2 separate regions of the Homo sapiens genome follow, and region 2 is linked to region 1. The links are contacts of gene promoters, found by promoter capture Hi-C in blood cells and fetal thymus (Javierre and others, 2016). All regions are on one chromosome and are shown on one strand. Each heading gives the region's core, a stretch centred on a gene start or on the middle of the fragment in contact. The rest is flanking DNA. Distances are from core to core; before and after follow the strand shown. Region 1 holds the start of GABRB2 (gamma-aminobutyric acid type A receptor subunit beta2). Region 2 overlaps LOC105377700 (a long non-coding RNA gene).

Region 1 (3,111 bases), core at 1-2,500:
GAGTCCCCGTCCCCTGTCCCGGACGAGGGGCCGGGGGCGCCAGCTCCGCACGCCGCGGGAGTGGGCGGCGAGCGCGGGCCTGCGAGGTAAGGAGGGATGGCGGCGGGTGGGGAGTGCGCCTGCACGTGTGTGCGCGCGGGTGCGCGCAGCGGAGGGGGCGCTGGGGGACCGGCCGGGGCGCGTCCCACCCGGCCACCTGCCCTTCCTGCTCTGTGCGGTCGCCCACGCCCTCCAGTCCCCCGCACCTGCGCTAGGGCGCCCGTCACCCGCATCCCTCACGCCTCCACGTCCCATCTCCCCCTCATGCAAACCCCACCCTGCCCACTAATAATTCCCACTGCAGAATCAGACCGAAACCTGGAGAGACAGCATTGCCTTTCTGCTCCCCTCGCCCCCCTCCCCTCCTGCTATAAATAACCCGGACTAGCGGGTCAGGAACGTCACACGGCGAGAAAACAGGACCCCGAGGTTTTCTTCTCTGGGAATAGGGGGCAAAGGGTGAGGAGAGGAGAAAGAAATCGCTCGTGAGTAGTGAAGAAAAGCTTGCTCTTTGACTACTAGAAGAGACCAGCCATTATTTTATTCTTTTCTTTCTCTTTCTTCCTTTTTTATTTTTCCGTGCCTTTCTTATTCTGTACCCGCCTCCCCAACCCCCCGCCCCAAATCCAACGGGTTGCTCAGCATTCCTCCCATTGGTTTTTTCCCTCCCTCCCGCTTCGACTCCCAACGCCCCCTCCCCCCTCCTCCCACCCGCTGCACAACCCCCGCCCCCCCCATCCCAGTCTCGCCCCAGGCAGGGCATGCTATTTGCCAAGGAAATAAAGTTCAAACTCCTTGCCCCGTGTCCGGCTGAGACCAGAAGTGGGCTTACCGGCACCTATCTTCCGCTGGCACGCCACACCTGCTCTCCTCTAATTTTCTAATCTGGTTTTGCATATTTAAAAGGACACACACACACACCAAAAACCCACAACCCGCTCGGTGCAAAACTGCCTCTTGCAACTACCGAAACTTACCAGACGCTGTAGTTATTTTGTCTTAACGAAAGGATAACAACAAAAATTTTATTCTGGATGCTGCTGTGGGGTGACTTTTCTATATTATTCAAATATGTATGTATTATACATATACATGTTTTTCCTTTTTCCCTTTTAATTTTTTTTTTTTTTTTTAAACAAGGAAATCTGCTCGGTCCCCGGCAGCCGCCGCTTCCCCTTTGATGTTTTGGTACGCCGTGCGCATGCGCCTCACATTAGAATTACTGCACTGGGCAGACTAAGTTGGATCTCCTCTCTTCAGTGAAACCCTCAATTCCATCAAAAACTAAAGGGATGTGGAGAGTGCGGAAAAGGGGCTACTTTGGGATTTGGTCCTTCCCCTTAATAATCGCCGCTGTCTGTGCGCAGAGGTAAGTGTGCCCAGCGTTTCTCTTTTCCGTTCTCACTTTGAAGGGTTCTGTCTGCATACCTCTGTGAGCAGGGAAATGTAGTAGGGATCCGATGCTGAAAACGCTATGCCTGCTTCCTTATTGATGCCTGCTTATTGTCATTTCTTTCTTTAGTGTCAATGACCCTAGTAATATGTCGCTGGTTAAAGAGACGGTGGATAGACTCCTGAAAGGCTATGACATTCGTCTGAGACCAGATTTTGGAGGTAATGGGGTTGCCTTGCAAATAAGTCCAGCCACAGCCGAAGCTGTCTTTTGAGCTTTGTGCGCGCTCTCTTCCCTCTCCCTAGTTGTGGGTGCATGTGGTGTCCTGAATGTGTCTCTATTTTACCATATTGAGAAACTGATCAAAACTTAAGCTGGATTATTGCTACCCACCACTTCCGTGGTCTTTCAATGAGACCCTCTTAGTGTGTACTCAAATTTGGTGACTGCTGTCTTTCAGCTTCACTGTTATGAATCCTTTGCTTCCCTGCCTTTGCTTTGTTGAGACACAAACCTCTTAAGTTTAGTTAATGGTGTGCCGAGAGAACCCGGCTTGCGGAAGGCCACCGTTAACATTTTTTAGGACAAGACGTGCAGGCAGTTGGTTGAGAGGTGGCGTTAACCCCCTGTGCCTGCCTACTTTGGAAGAGTTCTTCTGGCCAGGGTTACAGTGGCTCATGTCTGGATATAATCCACTCCTCCCAGCCTCACAGAAATGGGGAGGACTGGGGGATGGGAGGGTAGGGAGAAAATGGGAGGGTTAGAGAAGGTAGGGGAAAGAAGAATCTCTCTCTGGCTGCAGCCCTAGATATGCTGATAGACTCACTTAATATTGCTTCAGACTCTTATGAAGCTCAAAGAGTTAAAACCTGTGCACAGAAGGGGGTGGGAAAGACTGAGGAGGAGGGGGTTTCAGCGCAAAATATAAAAATCCCTTAGACTAGAAGGATTCTTGTGCTTCTGTGAGTTGTGTGCATTCACATGCTGAGACATATGCATATGTAGACAGAGCTGGAATCCCTTGTTCACAGCATACGTGTGTGCATATTCAATACAGCATTTGTTAGAGGAGTGTGTGCCTGCTACCTTTTTTTTTTTTTTTTTTAACAAAAAAAGCAGAGAATTGAAAAATTTGAGATTGAGTAGTGCAGAAGGGTTTTGGGCAGAGTGTCTTATGCTCAGGGATAACTCTTGCTGAGAATGAATGAAGTTCAAAGAAATCACGTGGCTGGCCGTCTTGCTTTGCAGGTCCCCCCGTGGCTGTGGGGATGAACATTGACATTGCCAGCATCGATATGGTTTCTGAAGTCAATATGGTGAGTATTGACATTTATGACTACTTCTTTGCAAACTTTCGTTTGGGGACAGGAAGGAGAAATGAGCCAGCTATTGGGGGTGGGGGTGTGCTTGGCTATGTGTATGAGGTGGGGGTGAGAGCATGGAATTTCACCCTAGAATACCCTGTGTTGAGGTTAGAGAGTTGACTCTTTCTGGTCCCTAAGGATTTTTTCAACCTGGTTCAGATACTTGGAGTAAAATGCATCACACATTCATGTGTAAAACGCAACCACGTGCAGGAGACCCCCTACAGAAGCCTCATCTCCTCAGGCTCAATGAGAAACCCAGTTCATTAAGTGATTTTCTGGATTTGATGTGGGGTCATGGGAAGAAGGGAGAGT
Region 2 (3,111 bases), core at 384-2,883, 1.8 Mb before region 1:
GTGGGGCAGCTGCCCTCTGCCAGTGAAGGGCAGAGGGCTACAGTGTTCCAGTCTTTCTTTGTACCCACATTCAGCAGGTCCCGAGTTCTTGTCCCACATCCAAGAATAATTAGGGTACACTGACAACTGAAGTATGAAGGGAGTTTTATTGAGTGACAGCTCTCAGTGGGGAGGGGATCCAAGAGGGCAGCCTCCTCTCTGAAGTCAGGTGCCCAAAGGTGAGCAGTCTCTAAGTGTGGCTGAGCCCAGGGCTTTTATTGGCTCAGAATGGGTGAGTGCGTGCTGATTGGTTTGTGAGTATGCAAAAAAGGCTAAAACAAAGCCACCACTCAAAGATGGACATAACAGTGTTAAAAAACAATTAGGGAAGGGTAAGTATATGTAAATAGGTGAAGGGGTAGGGATCAATGATAGGAAAGCATGCCAGATGGGAAGAGAGGCTCTTAATCTGGTCCATGGATTTATTCAAGACTTGTAGCTTGGCTTTCAGACTTTAAACTGTCTTTGGTTTGAAGGTGGGGTTTCACCAAGGACCCACCCCTATCTGCCTAGGCATTTGTCTGCCTCCTGCCACTATCAGTGTGAAGCAGTAAAGTATTACTTTGTTTTAAATCAAATCTCTCAGTTAACTTGAAGAGTCAGAATCAGAATTGCTTTTTGTTTGTTTGAATAATACACTGTGGTGAGACTGGGCCATAAAGTTCCCACTTATATTCCAATAACATAATTGTACAAAGATTGGGTAGCAGACAATGTAGTTGAAAGTAATTTACTATAAATTGGCATGCCAGTAGTAGAGTTCTTTTTGGGTATGAAGAAATAGGCACTAGACATGGTCTGGAAGGATAATGCAAGAGAAGTAGCCAGCATTTCTGCATAAAAACATTTGGGATATATGACTTTGAGAGAGTATCCCAAGGGTCCAGGGAGATGAAGAGAGGGCCAGGCAACCTGATGAGAGATGCCAGGACTTCAAGACAAAATATAGCCATTGAAAAATTCCCAATGGCAAAGATGGCTTTGAAATTTTTAAGAACAGAGATTTGTAATATTAGATTTAGGACTGTTTGCTCTGTATGCTATGAAGAGATCCTCTTTTGTCATCACCAGCGCTGCCCTGTGGGAATCATAATTTGGAAGATGTTTGGGTTCATGCAGGGTAGAAAGAACATAATGGGAGGCTAGCATGAGTGAGACTGAGACTTAAGAAGGATTTCTAAATAAGAGGAAGTAGTAATAATGAGAATATAAATCCCTAAAATTCTGTAGAAATCTTGGGCATTATGGATTGAGGTGAATTTTTGAGGCATGACCCTATAAAAGTGGATACAGACACATAGCTTCTGAGATTAACACAGCTTTTCTTCCATCATGATATCATTATGATTGTTTCTTTAGATGGTTTTCATTTTTTCACTGATGTGAAAATCCTCTACTATCAGCTACTCTAGAAAGAATTTGCAAAGGCATTCTTGCTATCTGGAATGAAGGGATAATTTAGTTCAGACAAAAAAGCTTTGTTACGCTTCTAACAGCAAAATTGGCAAAATTACAAGACCTCTAATTTTTATGGGTTAGATGGGTTCTTAGGGAAACCCAAGGCTAAATACCTTGAACACTTTGTCAAGGGTTCTGCAGTCTAAGAGGCTAGGTCAGTGCAGCTGCAGGCAATTTGCAGGAGACTGGCAATGTGGTGTGTGGGCCCCAAGGCACTGAATGCTAATCTGAGACTATCCCCTCCAAAAGCTTTTGCCATTCATCATTTTCACATCCAGATGGCTCCCATTGTCTTTCTATTCCTCTTTTTGTGCAAAGTGGCTGCTCTTAAATCATGGTATATTAGTGTTGGAAGCAATTTTATTATTCATCTAGTAGTCCAATTACCACTCTTTATAGAAGAGGAAACGGAAACCCAAAGAGGGTAAATATCATGGTCAAAACTACCCAGTTACTTTGTATCACAGCTGAGAGAAGAACATTTTTATCTCTTGGATCTCAGCCCAGTTCTCATTGTACTTCACCAGAATCTGATAATTTGGAGGAAAACTTGTAGCACAGGAGTTGAAGTCAGATGACCACAAATTCAAACCTCATCTCTGTTACTTAATAACTGTTAGATCTCAGCCAGTTAATCATTAATCACCAGTTTTCTAAATTGTAAAATGAGAATGATAATGAAACCGCTATCACAGGCTGTCATGATGATAAATTGATATTTGAATTTGAAGTGCTTATCATAGTGCCTGGTAAATAGTAACTGCTCAGTTAATTAGCTTTTATCAGCATGGCTCCAAATCTTTTCACGTAACAATATAAAAATGGTGTTTCTTAGCGGGGAGGGCAAAGGAATGGATATTTTGTTTATGAGCATCTGCAAAGGCATATTTGACTTTATATATGCTAATAGTTCAGTCCAGTGATCAAGACTTGCTAGCCTGATGATTGTAAATGTCCTTCTATAGGAAACATTTTCTCAGAGAGTAGGAAGAATGAAAATTTTTAAGGTTTTTAAATACTGTGCTGTCTGTTGATGGCTGGCACACACTTATTGATAATAATGGTCAGTGGACCCTGTCATCAACTTGGGGTACCAAATACAGATCAGGGAGACGTTTTGAATTTATGATACTATGTGTATTTAAGAAGTAGTAGTTTGATTTTTCAAGATTATAAAATTGGCTTCAAAACAAAACAACATTCAACCTTTCTGCAACTTCATAGAATAGTTGGTGTATGTTTAAGCTCTCTAATTTTTAGAGGCATAGTTAATGCATTGAGAAATCTAAAAAAAAAAAAAAGGCAGATGATATTAACCAAGCCATAGTTCTCCCTTAAATTAATGAATTAATTGTCAGTTGAAGACAAAAAACTTGCAATCTTGGAAGGTGATTAGTATCTGGAAGATACTGGAAAAATACAGACTTGGAAAAAATTCAGCAAAAAACCCCCCAAAACAAAAAAATGAACCCAAACTCAGAATGAAAACAAAAACAAAAAATCCCAAACCACAATCAATGGTTTTTGAGATATTTACATTTATTTACTCTCTACTATAGAGGTTTGTTTGTTTGTTTGTTTGTTTTGTGGATACAGGGTCTCACTCTGTTGCCC

What was found. The method cuts DNA at HindIII sites, captures the fragments that hold promoters and counts their contacts. A CHiCAGO score of 5 or more calls a contact.
Region 2: a fragment that was not itself captured here is called in contact with the fragment with the promoter of GABRB2 in region 1 in 1 of 17 cell types (M0 macrophages); the score reaches 5.3 in M0 macrophages.

The regions. Positions count from the first base shown.
Region 1 is chr5:161,544,864-161,547,974 of GRCh38, reverse strand. It overlaps GABRB2 (gamma-aminobutyric acid type A receptor subunit beta2), which reads left to right and starts at 1,250. Exons shown (of 10, transcript NM_001371727.1): 1 at 1,250-1,408; 2 at 1,562-1,653; 3 at 2,681-2,748. The coding sequence starts at 1,332. The HindIII fragment of the contact is 2,842 bases long and covers 545-3,111 here.
Region 2 is chr5:163,362,021-163,365,131 of GRCh38, reverse strand. All of the region lies in intron 1 of LOC105377700 (a long non-coding RNA gene), which reads left to right. Among named protein-coding and RNA genes, the nearest start is that of CCNG1, 74 kb to the left of the region's middle. The HindIII fragment of the contact is 231 bases long and covers 1,518-1,748 here.